3 separate regions of the Homo sapiens genome follow, and all the other regions are linked to region 3. Evidence: promoter capture Hi-C in 16 types of primary human blood cells and fetal thymus (Javierre and others, 2016). All regions are on one chromosome and are shown on one strand. The core of a region is centred on a gene start or on the middle of the fragment in contact, and the rest is flanking DNA. Distances in the headings are between cores, read along the strand shown.

Region 1 (4,519 bases), core at 85-2,584, 700 kb after region 3:
ATATGTCCGTCCTTATGCCAGTACCACACTGTTTTGATTACTGTAGCTTTGTAGTAAATTTTGAAATCAGGAATTGTGAGTCCTCCAACTCTGTTCTTTTTAAAGATTGTTTTGGCTATTTGAAGTCCTTTGAGATTCCACATGAATTTTAGTATGGATTTTTCTCCTTTTGCAAAAATCACTGGTGGGATTTTGATAGGGATTACATTGCCTCTGTAGATCACATTGAATAGTATTGACATCTTCATGATATTGTCTTCCAATCCATGAACACAGGATGTCTTTCCATTTATTAGTGTTGTCTTTCATTTCTTTCAGCAATGTTTTATAGTTTTTATAGTTCTTTTCCCTTGGCTTGGTTAAGTTTATTCCTAAATTTTTTATTGTTATTGATGCTATTGAAAATAGAGCTGTTTTATAAATTTCCTTTTTAGGTTTTTTATTGTTAGTATATAGAAACACAACTGATTTTCGTGTGATTATTTTGTATCCTGCAACTTTGCTGAATTTACTAGTTCTAATAGAGTGTGTGTGTGTGTGTGTGTGTGTGTGTATCTGTAATCTTTAGCCTTGCATTTACCTTTGATTTTTCCCTTTCTCTCTTGCCTATATATGCAAATAACCACCAGCTCATTTCAGTTTGTTTTGATTTCACAGTGTTTCTGATCTTTGACTCTCTTTAGTCTCCTTGCAATCCAATGTGATCAAATGACATTTGTATCCAGAATGTCTGGGATGGTGTGTGAAGAATTCATTTTCTAAAATAGTCATTTTATCTTGCTTTCCCACTCAAAACTCTAGGAGTTTCATGTAACAGTAGAGCTTCCAGTCTACTCCCCCCCTCATCTCAGAGGTAGCACTAGTAGTTAAAAGCTTAGGCTCTGGGGTCAGGAGGACCTGGTGGAGGTGGAGATGCTGCTTACTAGCTGTGTAGCCATAGTTAAGTTTCTCAGACCTGCTCATTCTTTTTTCAGCTGGAAACTGGTGATCATAATAATAACTCCCTTGTAGGGTTATTGGGAGGCTTAAATGGAATAATGAATGTAAAGCATTTAGTGAAATACTCTCTTTCCTGTCCTCTCTCCCTTTGAGGCCTTTAGCTTGACTGTTTCTCCAAAGACACAGATGAAACTGATCTCCTGCCTCCTCTTATCTGTGTTACTCTTTTGGCACTTACCACCTACTTCCTTGTACTGTTTATTATCTTTTTGTGTGTATCCGTGTTATCTTTCCTACCAAATTGTAAATTCTCCAAGGACTGAGAGATTGTCTTTTTTTTCTCTTCTTGTGTTTGTGGCATGTTGTAATACAATGACTTACGACATGGTAAAAGCTGAGTCAATATTTGCTGTTTAATTGTTTGACATAATGAAATCCTTCGGTGGCCTGATTTCCAACATCTTGAGAACTGATATTTCATTTATTTTATCTGAGTTTTTTTTTCAGTGTTTCAGACTTCCGATATTCATCTTGGTCAGAAGTATTAGTTCCCTACTTCGATTTTTAAAAGCTGACAACATTTAAAGATCACTAACAAGAAAGTATTAAAGATGTCGTTACTTCCTGGAAACCATCTGAGTATATTTCAACCTATGTCTCTATCAAAAGTGGGAAAAACGAAGATAGACCAGGGTGGCCAGATAACATACCCAGTTATATCTGAATGTCAGATAAACAACGAATGACTTTTTCATATAAGTATGTCTCATGCAATAGTTGCTTATCTGACATTCAATTTAATTAGGTATCCTGTATTTTTATTTGCTAAATCTGACAACCCTACCATGAAGCTTTAAGTTTCAGGGAAAAAGGAAAATGGGCATAAGCATTATTCTTTTGGAAATGAGACTATTCCTCTGTACTTAAAACAAAATGTTTCCGTGTCAAAAGAATACAGCTTGAGAGGTCATTATGAAACAACTTTTTACAACTATGACCTTACCTAAGATATGTGATGATAAAGCTAATGAAAGATAACATTAACTGAAATATTGACAAACAATGCTTTTGAATATGAATGAAAACATTGTTTCTGTGAAATGCAATTGTGTACCAAATCAAAGAACTGGCTGGGCTTAAAAATCTTTTCTAATGAGTACGTAAAATTGTCATAGCATTTGCATATCTCTGTCTTCCTGAAAATACTGCTGCTCGGTCTGTTGAAAGCATGACCTTGAACTTGCAGGAAATCTTGAGAAATTATCTGTGGCAAGTCCTACCACAACTGAGAAGAACATAATATAAATCAGAATTTCTTGGCTATATTTACTCAGGATGGCAATGAGAATTTTTATGTGATTGAAGAACTTTTGGACATATTATTCATTATGGCACCATCTTAGTATCTAACTTGTTTTTGAGTCATGAATAGTTTAATACATACTAATCAAAAATGAGTAATTGCAAGCAGTGTTTCTGTGGAGTCAGAGTTAACTTTGGACTTGTTACCAATGTAACCAATGATTTTCATCAATACAGCCGGTGAGTCAATTCATCACATCCTTTACCAAGTCCTTCACTTGGCCCCGGGTAGTGAAACATGGACGTCATCTTGGAAGTAGTAGCTTACTTAGAGCTGGATACTTTACTATAGCTTACTTGATTGTTTTTTTGTAGGAATCTGATGTAATACAGTCATATATCTGGCAGGAATCTGACATAATACCGTCGGTTATAACTCTGAGAGAGAGACAGGAGTCTTCATTTTTAAATTCAATAATATTTATTGAAAGCCCAATGTAGGCTAATCACTAGTTAGAGGAATGAACAAGATAAAGTCCTTGCTATCATGGAGCTTGCATTCTAGTGAGCAAATCAGACAATAAACAAATGATGCATAAACAAGGGAAATTAACCAAGTGGTAGCAGAGAAGTGCTATGCAGATGATTTAATAAGGTAGTGATGTTTTTTTAAGTTAGGTGATGTTGGGGCTCAGAAACAGATATCCCAAAATATGGTGCTTAGACATGTGGAACTGAAGACGAAGCCTCAAGGTCTCTCTGACTATCCCCCCACCTTCTGTCTCTCATCTGTTGTCTCTGTCAAAGCAAAGGATGAAGCTGTTCTCTGAAGTTCCCTTATCTGCTTAAAATTTGGGCCTGTCAAAGAAAATAATTACCTCTGTTGCCTTCCCTGAGTGTATTTCATTAACTGAACTCACAGGGCCCGAAGAAAGACTGAAGTCTGTCAACACACCTGGACAGACTTGTCACAAACCACTGTCTGTTCTGCAGGCCCAACAGACTTTGTCCCAGTCCACTGTATATTCTTCAAGACTGTTGAATTTGCCTAAAAATAATTTGCCACTCCCCTAAAATCTTTCACACTTCCCCACCTCCCTTTCCCCTAAGAGGAAGGGTATATAACCATCCATACCCCATTGTATGGTGAATTAATCACTCTGTGATTCTCCCCCATGCACATGCCTTTTCTCCTATTCATCTGACTTTTGTCCACTGGTTTTCAGGAAGCTGGGCCTTTAGAGGGTGAAGAGAAAGTTTTCTCTTGGCCCCTGCAGTGATTGGGATTGGCCTATGTAGGGTGATGAAATTTAAATGCAGGCCTGAATGAAGGGAAGAAGCCAGTCATGCAAAGATCAGGAAGCAGAGCTTTGGAGCAGAGGAAGTGTGACGGCCCCAAGACAGATGAGCTTGGTGTGCTCCTAAGGAAGACCAGTGCAGGGAGAGGAAGGCTGGAAGGAGATAAGGCTGAAGGTAGGCAGGGGCCAGGTTATATAGGATTTTAAAGAACAGGAATTTATTCTTAGTGTGATGGGAAGACACAAGGCTTTTCAATTAAATATTAAATAAACATATTTTGAAGCTGGGCATGGTGCCTCACGCATGTAATCCCAGAGCTTTGGGAGGCCAAGGTGGGAGGATTGCTTGAGCCTAGGAGTTCGAGACCAGCCTGGGTAACATACAAGATCCCATCTCTACAAAAAATTTAAAAATTAACTAAGTGTGGTGGCACTCACCTGTAGTCCCAGCTACCTGGGAGGCTGAGAGGTAAGAGAATTGCTGGAGTCCAGGAGTTTGAAATTACAGTGAGCTATGATACTGCCACTACATTCCACCCTGGGTGAAAGAGTGAAATCCCATCTCTTAAAAATAAAAAACAAGGTCCAGGTGCGGTGCCTCACGCCTGTAATCCTAGCATTTTGGGAGGCTGAGGCGGGTGGATCCCAAGGTCAGGAATTCGAAACCAGCCTGGCCAACATGGTGAAACCCCGTCTCTACTAAAAATACACAATTAGCCGGACATGGTGGTGGGAGCCTGTAGTCCTAGATACTCGGGAGGCTGAGGCAGGAGAATCCCTTGAACCCAGGAGGTGGAGGTTGCAGTGAGCTGAGATGGCACCGCTGCACTCCAGCCTGGGCAACAGAGCGAGACTCCATCTCAAAAATAAAAAAATTAAAAAATAAGTAAACAAATAAATAAACACATCGTGTATTCTTTTGAGATAAAGGGGATGTTCTAACAATGAGAAAAAAGTAGATGTTTTGAAAGAAAATTGAA
Region 2 (4,942 bases), core at 1,255-3,754, 720 kb after region 3:
CAGATTCTGGATTGAATTTCAACATGGAGCAAACAGAATTTTACTGATGGCTTGAATGTGGTATGCGAGAGAAAAAGAGAAACTGAAGATAATTCTAAAGATTTTTGGCTTCAGTAACTGGAAGGATGCAATTGCCATTTGTTGAGATGGAGAAACCTGGACTAGGAGCCTGGTTTGGAGAACATCAGGAATTTGGTTTACGGACATGCTAAATTTGGGGTGTCTGTTAAACGTTGAAGTTGAGCTGGTATGTAGGCAATTGGTTATTCAGGTGTAGAGTTACAAGAAGAAAGTTTAGGGCTGTAGATAGGAATTTGGGAGTCCGAGGCACTTAGAGAGTAACTTGAAGCCACAAAACTGGATGAGTTCACCAAGGGAGTGAACGTAAAAGAGAAGAGAAGAGATCTGGGAGCTAATAAGCCTTGGGGATTCCAGACTTTAAGAGTCAAGGAGCCGGGTGTGGTGGCTCACGCCTGTAATCCCAGCACTTTGGGAGGCTGAGGCGGGTGGATCACGAGGTCAGGAGTTCAAGACCAGCCTGGCCAACATGGTAAAACCCCGTTTCTACTAAAAAGATAAAAATTAGCCAGGCGTGGTGGCAGGCGCCTGGAATCCCAGCTACTCGGGAGGCTGAGGTAGAGAACTGCTTGAACCCGGGAGGCGGAGGTTGCAGTGAGCCAAGATTGTGCCACTGCACTCCAGCCTGGGCGACAGAGCGAGACTCCGTCTCAAAAAAAAAAAAAAAAAAAAAAGAGTCAAGAAGATGGAGGGGAATCAACAAAGAAGATAGAGCAGGAACGACCAGTAAGGTAGGAGGCAAACCAATACAAGGTTCTCTTCAGTCAAGTGAAAAAAGTGTTTCAAAGACAAAGGGATCAGCTGGGTTAAATGATGATGATGATTCAAATAAGATGAGCTTTGAGACTTCACCGTTGGAATTAACCGTATGGCGGTCACAGGCTACCTCAGTAAGAACTGTTTTGGTGAAGTGGTGAGTTCAGTAGTCTGGGTAGATTGGGTTCAGGAGAGAATGAAAGGGAAGAATTGGAGACAATTAATATAGAACATTCTTTTGAGATATCCATATCCTAAACTAGAAGGCAGAGATGGTAGTGACTGTCTGTGGCATCTTCTTTATCCCCTTATCCACCAGGTATAAGATAACTCAGTTACTCTCTAAGCTCTATAATCTGAATAACAGATGACTTAGAACTTGGACCAGACCACCTTATGACCTTGGACAAGTTAGTTGCCTCATTTTTAGGACAGATGGTAGCTTTTTATTTTCTTCATAGTAAGGCACATAGTAAACACCTAAATATTTATTGAATCAAACATTATAAACATTGTAACTAAATGCAAACTGTAATTCCCCAAACAAGTAGTTGCTTGACAGTTTTTACTCAACAGATTTTACTTCTATGTAATCTTTCACAGCCTTCAGGCAGCAGAAGAATCTTCTTCCATGTATCCTTAGATTTCACGTCCATTCTAGAAGTCTAGAAAGGGGTTGCAGAAGTCTTTGTTGGGGGGTATATACAGATGATTTATTAGTCATTCATACCATGTTTAGAATGACTTTAATAATAGGGCACTCCAATTTGGATATTGCATCTTTTCAGAGGAGATGGGGGGAAGATGAGAGAGGAGTGTAGGAAAAAAGATGTGCTATTGAAAGATCTTTCGTTACCATCTTAAATTATAGGTTCCTGCACAGTATTTATATTTTGTGTAACAGCACCTGCTTCTCAGACACCTGTACTTCTTGTGGGGTCAGTGGCAATTCTGTATTTCTTTTTTTTTTTTTTTTTTTTGAGATGGAGTCTTGCTCTGTCGCCCAGGCTGGAGTGCAGTGGCGCGATCTTGGCTCATTGCAACCTCTGCCTCCTGGGTTCACGCGATTCTCCTGCCTCAGCCTCCCGAGTAGCTGGGATTACAGGCACCTGCCACCATGCCTGGCTAATTTTGTATTTTTAGTAGAGATGGGGTTTCGCCATGTTGGTCAGGCCGATCTTGCACTCCTGACCTCAGGTGATCCACCCACCTCGGCCTCCCAAAGTGTTGGGATTACAGGCGTGAACCACTGCGCCCAGCCTCTATATTTCTTTTAATTGTCTTTTGGGACCATGACTTTCCTTATCCTTTGTATACAGTAATTCTAGCCAACAGTAAACACTTCATATTCATTTAAAAAAATCTGTGAATTGAAATAATGACAAGCTAAATTATCTTAAATTTTGTAGTATTTACTTTATGCTGAAGTCAAGATTTGTCTTCATGGTGCCAGTCAGTCATTACAGACTTCTATTTATGTAGCTAGAAAATGTGCTTCATTCTCTTTCTCTCGTGTTTTATAACTAAATCCTTATATTCAAATGAATGCTGAAACTTGGTTAACAGAAGAAAAGCAGAAGAACAGGGATGTGCTTATAAAATATTTGGATTTTAATTTTTAGATAGGAATTAATAAACCTTTTAAGCTCATTCGGCCTGTATTTTCAAATGTACAGATTAGCTAGCCTGTTTAGAGGAGGGACAATTATTGCCCATTCATCCGTGCCCCATGGTTGGGAGGAACTTCCCTAAAAAAACACCACTGATCACTAGACCCATCTCTAACATCTTACCATGGCGGTGTGAGTTACCTTACTGGAGGGTGATTGCCTTTGCTCTGTTTTGCTTGATTAGGAAGAGCTGATCAGTCAGAAAGCTATGAGTAGTGGGAATCAGTCTCTTTGCACCTCTCTGCCCAGACCAGTAAGGCAATTATCCTAACCAGACTTACCCTTGAGCATACTGTCTCAAAGTCTAGAATGTAGAGGAGAGGGCACAAATTGCTAGCAAGCCCATTTGGCCATCACATTTAACCTGTATTCTTCAATAGCTGTATCAGTTATAAAGGTTCATCTCTTGTCTGCCCGACTCCTGTGTCCACTCAGTTTTTTGGATGGGAAAAACCAGTTAATGGGGCCTCCCTAAAGCCCATCACAGTCCTTTTTAGAAATGAAGATGATGATTTCATTCATGAATGATGGTGAATTTGTACTGTGATTATCAATTTTGTCCAGTGATTCTTGCAGTGGAATCCACTGAGCTTGTGGTGTTGAGTGTAGTTCAGTCTTTCTCTGTGGAGTCTATTCCTTTGTACATGTGTGTTGTGTAATAATAGCTTCCCCATTTTTATTGTAGAATCCAATTTTTTTTAATTTGGAGAAAGAGATACACAGAATCTAGAATGGTAGATAACCTTTCAGTCATTTATATTTCTGATGTAGGCATGCATAGCGTTAGAGCTGAATAAGTACTTGTTTAATTGTATACATCTTTGCATCAGATAGAATTATCATAAAATTAGTTTTCTTATGTACACACTCTTTTTGTGATATGTATAGTTTAGTGGAAGATGCCTGAGCCAATTTTATGGGATAAAGCAAGTCTATTGTGAAAATTTTGCCACATATAATCTAGAGCTGATGGAACAGAGACTTTCTTTTAGTTTTAAGTTTCCTTTTTCCTTTTATGCTATTCTCAGTTTTTTCTTTACACTAATTATGAGAACACTCTTAGAATATTGTATCTTTTGTTATTCATAGACAATAGCCTAAGTTGAACTGGGAAAGTGGAATGGCTTCTGCTATTACAATTATTCCTAGAAATATATTCTAAAACGTTATATGGGTTACCAGTTTACCTAGTGATTGGTTTAATGTGGTTAATTTCACAATCATATTTTGTTCAATGTTGAGAATAAAACAGAGGTTGAGGTTATTTGACTTGATTGCTGAGAGGAGAATTTATATGGCAGTTGTAAGTAATGCCAATAAAAGTTGTTTGATAAAATGCCTAGTGTCTGTAATAAACCTTTTCTCAGCTTTGTTATGCTCTCTCTCAGTGAACTGCTTATTCCATAAATGGTACTATGTGACTTTCAGAACTGTTTTCCACTGTGGGCATTATTGGGTCTGTTTAGACAGTAATGATACCAGTTAATTCCACCTAGTTGAAAACAATTCCAAAGCCTTTCTTACAGAGTTATACAAAAATAAAGGAAAGGAATTGCAGTGGAAAGAGAGATTTCTGATTGGATGAAGCAGGACCCTAGATCATTTTATAATGAAGTCACAGTCATATTTTCAAAAATCTTTATTTTCATCAAAACACTTAATTGTAAAAGATGGGCCCTATACTAATGAATGTAAAAATATGATTACATGTTTTAAATAACAGCATAGTATTTCATTTTAAGAACTGAATAGTTGATATTTGAGTATTACTTATATTTACTGAAATTTTTTGTCTAAGCGTGTCATAAGGACCTAATTAGAAATTTAATCTAGAATTTATGTTTCATTTCCCATCTTATGTAATACTAAATTAAGCAAGGTGAGGATTCATTCACCATATTTGATAAGTGTTTCTGATTACATCATCCAGCAACTGAAATCTCACATGTAACCAGGCATATTGCAAAAGCAAGGGCATGCCACGTTCTACATTTTTGTTAGAATATGTGTATAAAACAGTATACTTCATTATCAGATGGATGCCTGTTTTATTGCTACTGAGGCAGTAGGCATTAAGCTCTGTGCAGCTACACAGTTAACTAATATATTTGAGTTGCTTAATATTAAAGCTAATAATCTAAGATCAAGAATTAAAGGACATGCCATAGTATATGCAGCAGTGTTAAAATGGAGAAGAGCAACGTTAAGATGCCACTAAGAGCAAATACTAGAATTCTAAAATGACGTAATTTCCTTGGTTAAACACATTCTGGAATACATACAACTCCTGGTTATAGAAGGAAATAGAATTTTAAACTGTTACATGAAACTCAACTGTGGCCTGTATAGTGAGCAGTAGTCAAAATGAGTTATGACCAGAAAGAAAAAGATCATTGTTGCCATTTACTGGGAAAGTATGAATAGACCATGAAGAAATC
Region 3 (4,656 bases), core at 2,092-4,591:
TCATAGCTCACTGCAGCCTCAGTGATCCTCCTGCCTCAGCCTCCCAAGTAACTGAGACCACAGGATGCATACCACCATGTGCAGCTAATTTAAATTTTTTTTTTTTTTTTTGGTAGAAATGAGATCTCGCTATTATATCCAGGCTACCCTTGAACTCCTGGGCTCAAGTGATTCTCCCATCTTGGCGTCCCAAAAGTGCTGGGATTACAGGCATCAGCCAGCATGCCCAGATGGTTTTAGACACTTTTAAAAGATGCCTGTGGAAAAATGATGTACAAATGTGCAACCAGGCATTTCTCTGGGGTCGGGGAAGAGTTTATGAGTTACTTGCAAGCACTCTACATTTTCTATTGTGTTGTCTGGTTTACAAAGGGTTTTCATTGCCATTATCTACTATTGATTTTGATTCTAACAAACATCCTATAATGTAGGTAGGGGAGGATTATATTACTAGGTTCAAAATAGTTCCTAAAGTGACATTTGTGTCTGATGATAGTTACTGTTAACATAAAGAACCCGAGGCTGGGAGAGGTTAAGTGATTTGCTCAAGTAAGTGGGAGAGCTACAGCTCAGTCCCCGTGATGTCTCACTAAAAATTTAGGTTTTGGGCTTTTTTAAACCACTAAGAGCAGTGATGGTTGATGCTGGAGAAGCAGATATCATTTTGGATGAAAGCAAGCAGGAAATTACGACGAGGGGACTTAAAAAACAGTCAAAGAAAGAATAGGAGCAAATGAAGGTGACCACATGACCTCCCCTCAACCCCTGAGGAGACTCAAGATCCTAAAGGGATAATGGCCTGTCATCCTTCATCTCCCTGACAGGACCAAGCAGTCTGCCAAGGGCACAGAAGGTATCTACTATATTTGAGTGGAGTAATAATGACAACAGACAACTTACAGCGGGTCCTCAAATACTGTCATTTTGTTCAATGTTGTTTTGTTATAATGTTGATGAGAAAAAAATGGATTTCTAGCCGGGACCACTGTTTGTATTTGCAGGTTCTCCTCGTGCCTGCAAGAGTTTTCTTTGGGTACCTTGGTTTCCTCTCACATCTTAAAGACATGCACGTTCAGTTCATAGGCTTGTCTACATGATACCAGTAGTTTTTCTTTTCTTTTTTTTTTTTTGTTTTAAGAGACGGGGTCTCCATCTATTACCCAAGCTAGAGTGTAGTGGCATTATCACAGCTCACTGCAGCCTCCAACTCCTGGGCTCAAGCAATCCGCCTACTGCAGCCTCCAGAATAGCTGAGACTACAGGTGTGTACCACCATGCCTGGTTAATTTTTGTATTTATGGTAGAGATGGGGTTTCACCATATTGCTCAGGCTGGTCTCCAACTCCTGGGCTCAAGCAGTCCACCTGCCTCATGCCTCCCAAAGTGCTGGGACTACAGGCATGAATCACTGCCCCCTTCCTAAATGGTCCCAGTTTAAGTGAGTGTAGGGGTGTGTGTGTGTGTGTGTGGTGTGTGTGTGTGTGTGTGTGTGTGTGTGTGTGTCTTGCAACAGAATGGCATCCTATCCAGGGATGGTTCCCACCTTTTGCCCAAGCTGAGCAGCTGGGATAAGGCTCCCACTATCTGTGACCTTGAACTGGAATAAATGAGTTGGAAAAATGAATAAATCCGTGAAACAAATGACTGTAAAATAAAAATATGTAAGTGTACATTAATCATAAAAATGCACGACAATAAATGAGATAGGAGTGCACTCAGCTACCATATTTGTGATTGTTTTTGAATTTCATGGTAGCAGCAGGTCCTACAGGCAACTTTTGCTTTGCAAACACTTATTCCTTGACTTAACCCAGCACCACAGCAACCATCGCTCACTTAATCACTAGAAATTTGGCAAACCATTATCTTGTTTTTATCAATCTTTAAAAAATGTAGGTAGGCCAGGTGCAGTGGCTGGTGCCTGTATTCCCAGCACTTTAGGAGGCCAAGGTGGGCAGATTCCTTAAGCCCAGGAGTTCGAGACCAACCTGGGCAGCATGGTGAAACCCCATCTCTACCAAAAATACAAGAAGTTTATCCAGGCTTGGTGGTGCGCGCCTGTAGTCTCAACTACTGGGGAGTCTGAAGTGGGAGAATCACCTGAGTCTGGGGAAGTAGAGCCTGCAGTGAGCTGTGATTGCACCACTGCACCCCCAGCCTGGTTGACACAGCGAGACCCTATCTCAAGGGAAAAAATAAAAATAAAAAAGAGGTATAGCTCACATTTATTTTAATGTTTAATATTAGAAGTGTTTTGAATTTTTACTTTGAAGTTCGGTGATGTTTTTGTAACCGGAAATAATGCTGTAGGAACTTAACTCTTTTTTTATATGTCAGCCTATGGCAAATTTGGTTTTGTTATATGTTGTTTTGCTTAAGGTGACAGTTTCCAAGAACCTACTCCGTGAGGACTGGTGAGCTGGGTCAGAGTAAATAGCACAGGATGACGACTGCAAGGACGATATGGGGGCAGCAGGGTTTTAGACATACTTGGAATGGCAGCTTCCTGAGGTAGGCCAAGTATTCTCAGCATAATAAGGGCTACATTTAGGTGTATCTGGAGGAAGACGGTGAACAGATTTCCACGGACGGTGAGTGCACTGGAAAACAGGCAGGGATGGCAAGTACCATAGTGATGGATTGGAAGAAGGTGCACTTTGGGGCATGATTCTACTGGTTAAGCCAAGGGCTCTCGATGAGGTCCGAGGTTCCTGCCCCGGGCACGGAGTGGGTTGGCAGTGACAGCCCAGCCTATTACGTGGGAGTCTCCCTCTTGAATGGCTCCAGGAGGCCCATATCGAGGGTCTGAAAGGCCAGACGGTTATCCGCACAAAAGTATTAAGTTCATTTCAGGGACTGACCCGGCAATGTGCCCGGGTCCTTCCCCTCGGTGCTGGGAAGCCCTGGTCTCCCTGCAGCATTTCACACCTGGCTGGGTCTCCTGACTCGTGGCGTGGGTGAGTGCATGAGCCTCCCTCCTTCGCCTGATCGACGCCTGGGGGCTCCTCTCCCCAACCTCCTCACTCTGCCCACTCTGTCCTCTCCCTCCTTGGGGAGCGGCAGGGGACGCCTAGCCGGGGTCCCCAGGCTCCCGCTCGCAACCCACGGCCTCCTCCGCGGGCAGGGAGCGAACGCCCGGAGGTCGCCCGCGCACAGGGGGCGGCCCGGCTGCAGCGGAGCCGGGGCGGGAAGGCGCAGCCTAACGGTCCAGCTGCCGCGCCCCGCGCCCCGCACCCAGTGCCCCGCCCGCGGCGCCGCAGCCGCCTCCCGCCTGCCCGCCCGCCCCCTGCGTCATGACGCCGGCGCCCAACGCGGAAGCCGCTCGCCGCGCGCCGGGTCCAGCCGCGGGCTGAGCGCGGATCCGCGGCGGGCGCAGGATACGGGCCGGGGCGCGAGCCGAGCGCAGTCTGCCGGGCCGAGCGGGCGGAGCGAGCCGAGTGGGGCTGAGCGCGCCGGCGGCGGCGGGCGGAGCGGAGCGCGGCGCGCCGGGGCCGCCGCCGGGGGGATGCGGCTGCCTCCCCGGGCCGGGGTGTAGAGAGGGCGGGTCCCCGGCCTCGGGAGCACGGCGGTGGAGGGGACATAGGAGGCGGCCATGGCGACCCCCGGCAACCTAGGGTCCTCTGTCCTGGCGAGCAAGACCAAGACCAAGAAGAAGCACTTCGTAGCGCAGAAAGTGAAGCTGTTTCGGGCCAGCGACCCGCTGCTCAGCGTCCTCATGTGGGGGGTAAACCACTCGGTAAGGGCTCAGCTGCGGCGCGCGGTCCCCTTCCTCCTCCTCCTCTTCCTCCTCGTTCCCCTCCTCCTCCGGCTGCAGCTGCTGCGGGGCGGGGAGCCGGAGTCAGCCCTGGACCTCCGGCTGCTCGCCCGCCTCGAAGCCCCCAGCCCCGCGGCGCGTGCCCCCAGCCCTCTGGGCCGCCCAGGCACCACCACTTGCGTCCCCTTTAGATCTATGGCCCGGTGCGGGTCGGGGGTCCCGTGTGCATGTGAGTCTCACGGTGGGTGCCAGTGCCGCCCCCGGTCCGCCCGCCCGCCCGCAGGTCGGTCCCCGCAGCCTGGGAGGTAGGAAGTTTGTGCGGGGCACGGCGCCTCGGCTGTCAGCCCCGGCGGGAGCTGCTGGGGGCCGGGTCCGGGCGACCGCTACCCGGTGTGGGGGCCGCGCGGCGCCCGCGTCTTCCGCTTGCGGGCAGGTGTACCTGTCCCGGGCTGGGCGCGTGCGAGCCTCCCACTGGGGCACTGGGGCGAGGATACCGGAGCGCGAGCAGATTTGGGGCAGCAGCTTTAGTGCTTAGGTCCTTTCTTTTTCCTTTAAAGGCAATATTACTGGGCACAAGTCGGCTTTTTGGCAAAGCAGCAGCCGATGTAAATATGGCTCTGGCGTCGGGCGGCATCCCTGCGCTTCTCCCGCATCGCCCTGCCGCTGTGCGGGCTGGAGAGCCCTTGGCGGGGAGTCTTCCTCCCTTCGTCGCCTCCCCCCACTTTGGGGAGTCAGGCAGAAGTCACCGACTGCGGAAGGGCGGCCGGGGCGGGGACAGCAGGCGGGGGTCCCGGCGGGCGCGGGCGGAGGGGGTCCCGAGTTGGCCGCACCCGCTGTGGGGGGTGTGGGAAAGGCTGGAGAACGCGTGGAAAGGTTAGCGTCACGCACAGTCGGGGATTGGA

The links. The method cuts DNA at HindIII sites, captures the fragments that hold promoters and counts their contacts. A CHiCAGO score of 5 or more calls a contact.
Region 1: a fragment that was not itself captured here is called in contact with the fragment with the promoter of PIP4K2A in region 3 in 1 of 17 cell types (total CD4 T cells); the score reaches 7.7 in total CD4 T cells.
Region 2: a contact is called between a fragment that was not itself captured here and the fragment with the promoter of PIP4K2A in region 3, in 3 of 17 cell types (total CD4 T cells, naive CD8 T cells and neutrophils). The highest score is 6.9, in total CD4 T cells.

Annotation. Positions count from the first base shown.
Region 1 is chr10:22,014,182-22,018,700 of GRCh38, reverse strand. No RefSeq gene overlaps it. Among named protein-coding and RNA genes, the nearest start is that of DNAJC1, 13 kb to the right of the region's middle. RefSeq lists a silencer at 3,527-3,821. The HindIII fragment of the contact is 917 bases long and covers 876-1,792 here.
Region 2 is chr10:21,995,262-22,000,203 of GRCh38, reverse strand. The region is part of intron 1 of DNAJC1 (DnaJ heat shock protein family (Hsp40) member C1); the gene reads left to right. Among named protein-coding and RNA genes, the nearest start is that of DNAJC1, 6.0 kb to the left of the region's middle. The HindIII fragment of the contact is 6,758 bases long and covers 1-4,942 here.
Region 3 is chr10:22,713,263-22,717,918 of GRCh38, reverse strand. It overlaps PIP4K2A (phosphatidylinositol-5-phosphate 4-kinase type 2 alpha), which reads left to right and starts at 3,341. Exons shown (of 10, transcript NM_005028.5): 1 at 3,341-3,736. The coding sequence starts at 3,593. RefSeq lists enhancers at 2,479-3,086, 3,087-3,695 and silencers at 2,856-3,525, 3,826-3,905, 4,076-4,195, 4,496-4,605. The HindIII fragment of the contact is 12,209 bases long and covers 1-4,656 here.